Regions from separate parts of the Homo sapiens genome. Here region 2 is linked to region 1. Evidence: promoter capture Hi-C in 16 types of primary human blood cells and fetal thymus (Javierre and others, 2016). All regions are on one chromosome and are shown on one strand. Each heading gives the region's core, a stretch centred on a gene start or on the middle of the fragment in contact. The rest is flanking DNA. Distances are from core to core; before and after follow the strand shown.

Evidence for each region. The method cuts DNA at HindIII sites, captures the fragments that hold promoters and counts their contacts. A CHiCAGO score of 5 or more calls a contact.
Region 2: a contact is called between the fragment with the promoter of CCSER1 here and the fragment with the promoter of SNCA in region 1, in 14 of 17 cell types (total B cells, neutrophils, naive B cells and 11 more). The highest score is 15.6, in total B cells.

What each region holds. Positions count from the first base shown.
Region 1 is chr4:89,835,603-89,839,120 of GRCh38, forward strand. SNCA (synuclein alpha) reads right to left here and starts at 1,559. Exons shown (of 6, transcript NM_000345.4): 1 at 1,360-1,559; 2 at 1-90. The coding sequence starts at 65. SNCA-AS1 (SNCA antisense RNA 1) reads left to right here and starts at 799. Exons shown (of 4, transcript NR_045481.1): 1 at 799-1,132; 2 at 2,659-2,804. The HindIII fragment of the contact is 7,659 bases long and covers 1-3,447 here.
Region 2 is chr4:90,125,966-90,129,352 of GRCh38, forward strand. CCSER1 (coiled-coil serine rich protein 1) reads left to right here and starts at 1,429. Exons shown (of 11, transcript NM_001145065.2): 1 at 1,429-1,866. RefSeq lists silencers at 1,987-2,186, 2,297-2,546. The HindIII fragment of the contact is 6,776 bases long and covers 1-3,387 here.

The DNA of each region.
Region 1 (3,518 bases), core at 309-2,808:
GTTTTCTCAGCAGCAGCCACAACTCCCTCCTTGGCCTTTGAAAGTCCTTTCATGAATACATCCATGGCTAATGAATTCCTTTACACCACACTGGAAAACATAAAATACACTTTGAATGAGAACTTTCGGGGAAAAATAAACAAAAAACACTGAAAAATCATGAGAAACCCTCCAAAGTGTGAGACTCTTTTAAGTGTACACTCATTTAACCATTGGACAAAGCAGACATTTTTAGCTCTGGCATTAAAAATTTAGCATCTCCCATCCATCTTGGCTAGTAAAAGTCTAGCCACCTAACCACGGATTAGGATGAATCCTCTGAGTTGTTATTACTGCATTTCAGAAGTGGAGTTGCATGAAAAGATTAACCCCTTTTTTAAATTCCCGGGGTCTAAAGGGTAACAGTATGAGTTAGAAGCATGGAAGCTGGAGGCTTAGGGTCAGGGGTATCCTTAACATGAATCCCAGAAGAAGGCTAACAGGTTGATGGTGGAAAGGCGTAGGCAACAGAACTAACTGCTCACTCGGGGTGTGGTTCAAACTCAGGCAAACAGCAGGCCCAAGTGTGATGGTTCTAATCCATCCAACATCCACCCCCGCCCTCAGCTATCTACCCTGAGCAGGCGCCGCTCACACTCGCGGGCCGTCTCCAACCCCGCGCCAGCCACCCGAGGGGGCGTTCTCAGCCTCCACCCTAGCGGACCCCGCGCCAGCACTTGTTAACCCGTTACCACCTGTTGACTTGGCCTCCTTGCACTTCCATTTCATTATTTGCCAAACGCAGCTTGCTTACTTTACAGAGAAAAACCAAGAGAGCGGGCAGACAGATTTTATGTGAGAGAAAAGTTGGATGCTCACGCTCCATGGAGCATCCTCGCGTTTCCCGGGGAAAAGCGGATCCCGGAGAAGCAGCCTAATCTCTCAGCCCTTGTGGAGAAGGGAATATCAGAAGCAGGACGAAAGCCAGGTCAAGTCTCTTTCCTTAGGCTCCCCAAAGGGACAAGTACTCACCTCCCAGAGACCTGGCCCAGCGGGTCCTCATGGCAGCACCACCCCCTCCCGGTGCCCACGACCATTCGTCTCCCATCCGGCGTTCTCCAGGATTTCCAAAGACGCCCGTTTAGATCCACAGGTACTTACCTGAGTCCCTCTGCTTCTCCACAACTCCGACTCCTCCCCGCCTCTCTCTTTTTTTAAAAAAAAAATTTAAACAATTCCCAAATAATATTTAATAGGAAAGAAGAAGGAAAAGGAGCGCACAGGAAGGGCGGAGGCGGCACCCGGGGGGGACTGTCCCCAGAGGAGGCCGCTGTGAGCCGGCGACGCGAGGCTGGGGGAGTGGGAGGCAAACCCGCTAACCTGTCGTCGAATGGCCACTCCCAGTTCTCCGCTCACGAGGGTGGAAAGGCAGAAGGCTTGAAGGCAAGGCGTGAGGGAGCGCCCAGGACGCTCTCGGAGGGGCCGGGCCGGGGTCTGCGCTGCAGCCCGCACGCACCTCACTTCCGCGTCGCGGCGCTCGGTCGCTCGCCCCCTCTCTTGGGCCCCTTCTGGTCGTCGCCGTCCTCCTCCTCCTAGTCCTCCTCCTTCTCCTTCTCCTCGGCTCTCCGCCCCCACCGCTGATTTGTCAGCGCTTCTGCCCGCCCCTCTCCCGGCGCTCGCTGCTTTCCCTGCAGCGTGCTCCTCGTCCCTATCTCGGATGGGGATGGGGCAGGGGGCGCGGGGTGAGCCATCAACTCCAGCCGCCTGCCTGGCCGCGCAAGGCGGGAAAGTGGGGGCGCTTTTGCGCCTCACGTTAAGTTTAGGGTCACGAGCACTCTTGTGGAGATCGGGAGCGGTTGGGCTAGGGATGATGCCTCTTCCTCTTTCCCCTTCCCCTCCCTTCTTGTCCCCGCCTTTCCTCTGGGTCCTCCCGGGGACCACCCCCTACCCCTCGTCAGAGTCGCCCTGGGAGAGCCGAGGGCCTGAGGGTCGACCACCAAGGGCAGAGCCTATCCCTTGGGGAGCTGCTGGAGGAGACAGGCAGCGCCGGGAGGTGGCTCACACCGCACCGCCGAGAGCGCTTTGCCCTCGCATCGCTGAAATTTAATCACGGTCACAGGTTACAACGTTAGGGGTCGCTTTAGTTCAAATATCTTCAAGGTTTTCGTTTGCTCTTAATCTAGGAAGAGCCGGAAAGGGTCCTGAGGGTGAAAGGGAGACTACTAAGGAAGAGTCACAGGTTGAGGAGGCAGGAGAAGGCTCAGCAAATCCTCTTTCCACGCCACTATCACCATTTTCCTTTCCACCAATCAGCGCCTGCCAGACGCTGATTTTCCCATCAGTGGAACAAGGAATAAATATTCCCCAGCCGTCTAAAACAAGCGGTCCTAAGGCTTTTCGCTCTAGAAATGGGACTTACTTTGCAGACCTCCCTTTATCTGGGAGACAAATCCAGCGTGATTTAGCCTACCGGACCATCATATCCAATTTCTTCTTCAGCCCCTTCTGAAAGGGAGATGCTACACACCACTCACCTTTCTGACTTCTGATTCTCGTTGCCCTCAGAATTGACACCCCCTTTTCTCTCCCCCCACCCACCACACGCACATGCACACAGACATACACACGCGAACTTCAAGACAATTTTTGCATCGCTTAACACATTTTCACCTCTTTCAGAGCTGGAAGACAGCTGTTCCTGGATCACACCAGAATGGAGAAGCAAGCTCCTCCCACTAGCAGAAAGCCTTTGCTTTCTGTGCCTGGATTCGGAAGATTAGTTAAGCACTGGAAGAGGAGGGGGGAAACAACAACTCGTTTTTGCTGTATGTTTTTTTTTTAATTGTTTTTATATTTATAGAAAGTTATGCTTTGTCTGATTCTTGCGCTAATTTGGGTTCTGAAATTTGAGTAAAATCAAATTTAAACATACAAAACAACTTTAAAACCACAAGGAACAGGAAGCAAATGATTATACATAAAAGACATATAGAAGATAATGCATATGTGTTCAGTGGAAAATAGAAAAGCATGAAAGTAAGATCACAAATATTTATTATTTAAACTCTTCCTTGAACTATTGGTCTGCCCTTTGGAAAAGCAGACTTTCCTTAATGCAGTAGCTCATATTAATATTTTTTGTTTGCTTAGGACCAGAGCAAGAAGGTTGGACTTGGGAGCTAGTTTGCTGTCTGGCTTTGAGACCTTGAACAAGTTTTGTTCTCCTTCTGTTTCCAGTTTTCTTTTTTGTAAATTAGGAGATTAACTCATGTGATCACTCTATTTTCAACTTTTTGTTATGGGAAATATTCAAACATATGCAAAAGTAGACAGAATAAAGGACTCTCATGTGAAGATCATCCAACTTTTACATTTTTTCAATGCATGGCTGATCATGTCTCATCCATAAGTCCACTCACTTTATCACTACCAATCCTCCCTCTTTTTTTTTTTTTTTTACCAAATTCAAGCTTTATATATATCTTTTCAGCTGTAAACATTCAGTATGCATCCACAAAATTTAAGGACTGTTTAAAAAT
Region 2 (3,387 bases), core at 179-2,678, 290 kb after region 1:
CAGCATATGACAAAACCCTAAAGATGTACGATGGTCACAAGCCATGGAAGAAGATAGGACAACTGAATTGTCAACCTTGCCGCCTCCTCCGTAGCCTCCTAAATCTTATCTTCCTTTTGTCTAATTTATGAAAAATGTTTCCTATAATTGTCTCCCAAAAGCAGAGTTGTCCCCATGCTGTAATATACATTGACCACTCAGATTCATTTAAAAAATACATCTTGCTTTTATTCCCAATATAACCACATTTCAGAAGTTAGATCATAGCCAGTTAGATTACACAGAGCGTGCGCACGCGCACGCGCACACACAAACACACCTTGAAAAAACTGTAGATCACTTGATTTCTGGAAGTTTTTCTCAATACCTCAGTGCACCTGATCACAACATCTTGTAATCTGGGCAGAAGGTAAGGGAGGTGATGTTAGGCGTACAAACTTAATATTGGGGATGCATTTTCTACCTAGAAATGGTCCTACATTCTACCAGAATGGGTTAAAAACAGATGCGCGCGCGCACACACACACACACACACACACAGAATTAAATGCACTACATTTGCTGTATTGCCTGCTAAAGGCATAAATATACTGGAGTGGAGATAAAGAAGGGGATGGATGGGAAAGAGTTCAGTACTTAGTGTAAACCTGAAAGGAAATGAGGCAGTGCAAGGGGAGAGAGGATCAGGGGAAAATAAATTATGTAGGCAACAGAACCATGCATCAAAAGTCTTTTCGATTTCTAAACTGGCAAATTTTCTCCAGGGGACCATCAGTCAAATGATGTCAAATTGAGCTGATTCTCTTGTAATGCCTGTATTGTGTAGGGCCTTCCTTGTAGGAACACAAGTTCCACTCTCGGACACAGTCGCAGTGCTTGCATTATCTTACAGAATTGATTGCTGCAAATGGTTCCTGGGAGGTGTGACCTGCTTAAAGGAAAGAAGCTAGGTTTCTTTTCTTGTTACTGAGGAATGAAGACACTTGTCAGGATGTGAATTGTGTGGGTGAGAAGGAAAAGCGGCGAAAGAATCTGGTAATTCCTTCCCTTACAGGAGGAAGAGAAAAAAGATAACATCGGAACCTTGGAGAGGAGAAATACAGTGCATTTATTTCCAGCATCCCCGCAGTCACTTCACGTCTCTTCAGACTTCCCCTATTCTTTAGTCTTGACCTGCCTATGCACTTGAACTCCACATAAGCACTAGGATGGACTGGGGGAAAAGGCCAGGTCAGCACGGTGGGATACTGCTTCCCCTAAAATGAAAACTCAGCAGCGGGCCAGCAGTGGGTGTGCGCGCGTCGATGCCAGAGGATGCGTGCGTGGAATCCGGCGGACGCAGTGGGCCGGGCACCGCCCTCCAAGCCGCCCCGCCCAGCCCACCACACTCCTCCTTGTATAAAGGCCGCGCTTGGGCCCGCCCTCCTCACAGCCCCGGAGCGCGGCCTGCCGGGGAGGTGGATCTCGCGCTCCCCACACAGTCACACTCCGCGCACTCACACACTTGGAAGCGCCTCCCCACGTCCCTCCCCTGCCCTCCTCTTGCTCTGCTCTTCTCTCCCTCACCACAAATAGTCGCCGACCTACTGCCAATCCGCCTCTCCTCTCTCTCTCTCTCTGTCTCAACATGACTGACTGGGAAGCGGTGGCTCGGGCAGAGCAGCTCCGCTGGCGCAGGCAGGAGGAGCAGGAGGATTATTAAATAACGCAGCTGGACTCTGTGCAACTGGGAGTGGAGAGGAGCCCAACAGCCGAGAAGGGGAGGGAGGGCAGAGGAGGGGGACCAGGAAGGACACCCCCGTGCCCCGAAGACATAAATCCCTGAGTGCCCGGGAGGAGCCTTAACAAGCGCACGGAGCCCTCAAGGTAGTAACGCCCCTGGTGCCTCAGCGCTCAGCGGGTCGCGCGTCGCGTCGCCGCTTTGCGGGGCCGGCCGCAGGCGGACGCGGGGATGACCGCTCGGCAGGTGACCGCGCCGTGTCGGGGCCGCCTGCGAGCAGCGCGCGCCCAGGCCCGGCGTGCTCGGCGCAGAGACCTGGCCTTGCGGGCGGGGTGGGAAGGAGGCGGGCGGGCTCGCTCACCACCGGCCCGCGACTCCCAGTGCGCCGCGTGGCCATTTCCTCCACGCTGCTGCGTGGTTTGCTGCCTGCGGCCGCGGCGGCCGCTCCAGGGCGATGCGGAGCGCTGGCCAAGGCGGCGAGAGTTGGCGCAGGCTTCGGGTCGCTCCCCTTCCTCGCCACTCGCGTCCCGCAGGTAGAGGCGACCGGTCAGCGCTGGCGCCCCGGGCTGCGGGTGCTGAGGCGGGGACGGCGGCGAAGAGGGGGAAGGGGAGGAGGGGGCGGGGAGCCAGGGGCTCCCGGAGGAACCGCAGTGCGGGGCCGGGACCACCTCTTGCCTCCGCCTGCTTGTCCTCTGGCGCCAGTTTCCTGGATTGGAAGCAAGACCCTGCCCAGAGGCAGCAGTAACGGCAGCGACTTAGATTGAACCACTTGCTTTGTGGTGGAGCGTCAAGGGCCCCAGGTTGTGTGCGTGTGTGTGTGTGTGTGTGTGTGCGCGCGCGCGCGCGCTCTGGACTAACCAGTGGGTTGGTTCACCTGAGCAGAAAGTCAGCCGTAAGCTGAAACCGCATGTGGCCCCCTGGCCCCTTCGACTTTTGGCTTGTGTCCCAGGGACTCGTACACACGGTGCCAGCAAGGGGTAAGGGTGACGGAGGGATTTGTGAATGGTGCTTCTGCGTGCGTGGAGGCTGAGCCTTGCTGATGTAAAGGAGGAGGTATCCAGAGTGAGAAGAAAGGCTATTTATGGCAAAGAGTTGTGAAATTTCTTGGGGTTTCCTTTTAGTGTATCCTGAACTGCTCTCTTTCTCTCTCTCTCTCTCTCCTCTCCCTGCCTCAGAATTAGAAGCAATTATGCTTCCCCTTCCTCTCGTGGGACATGGAATATGAAATGAAGTAAAAAAAAAACTCATATTTTTACAGGTAGAAAAAAATACTTCTTAGAAGTTACAGATTCTTTGCCCTTTAATGTTTTTATGTCCTCTTCTCCACCCCTCTTACCTTTTCAGGCAGTCAGTAGGACTTACAAGTCAGAAAATACCTACTTGGTTTCAACAGCTTTCATTTCTGAAATCTTTACAGTTGAATACCTTCCTATTGAAATGTAACACACATCCTCCCTTCTCTGCCCCTCAAGGACTATTAAAAATAATGTGTACACGTTTAAAGTAAAGCTGGTTTTATTAACAGCCTTAGGGAAAACGGATAAGAGGACACCTAGGTGGGGGTCAGTTATCACTGGTTCCTTCAAAACTGGTTATTAAGGGAAGACCTAAAATACTGGTAATCTAGGCTATAATATAATTTGTCTTGGTTTCTCTTTCTGTTTGCT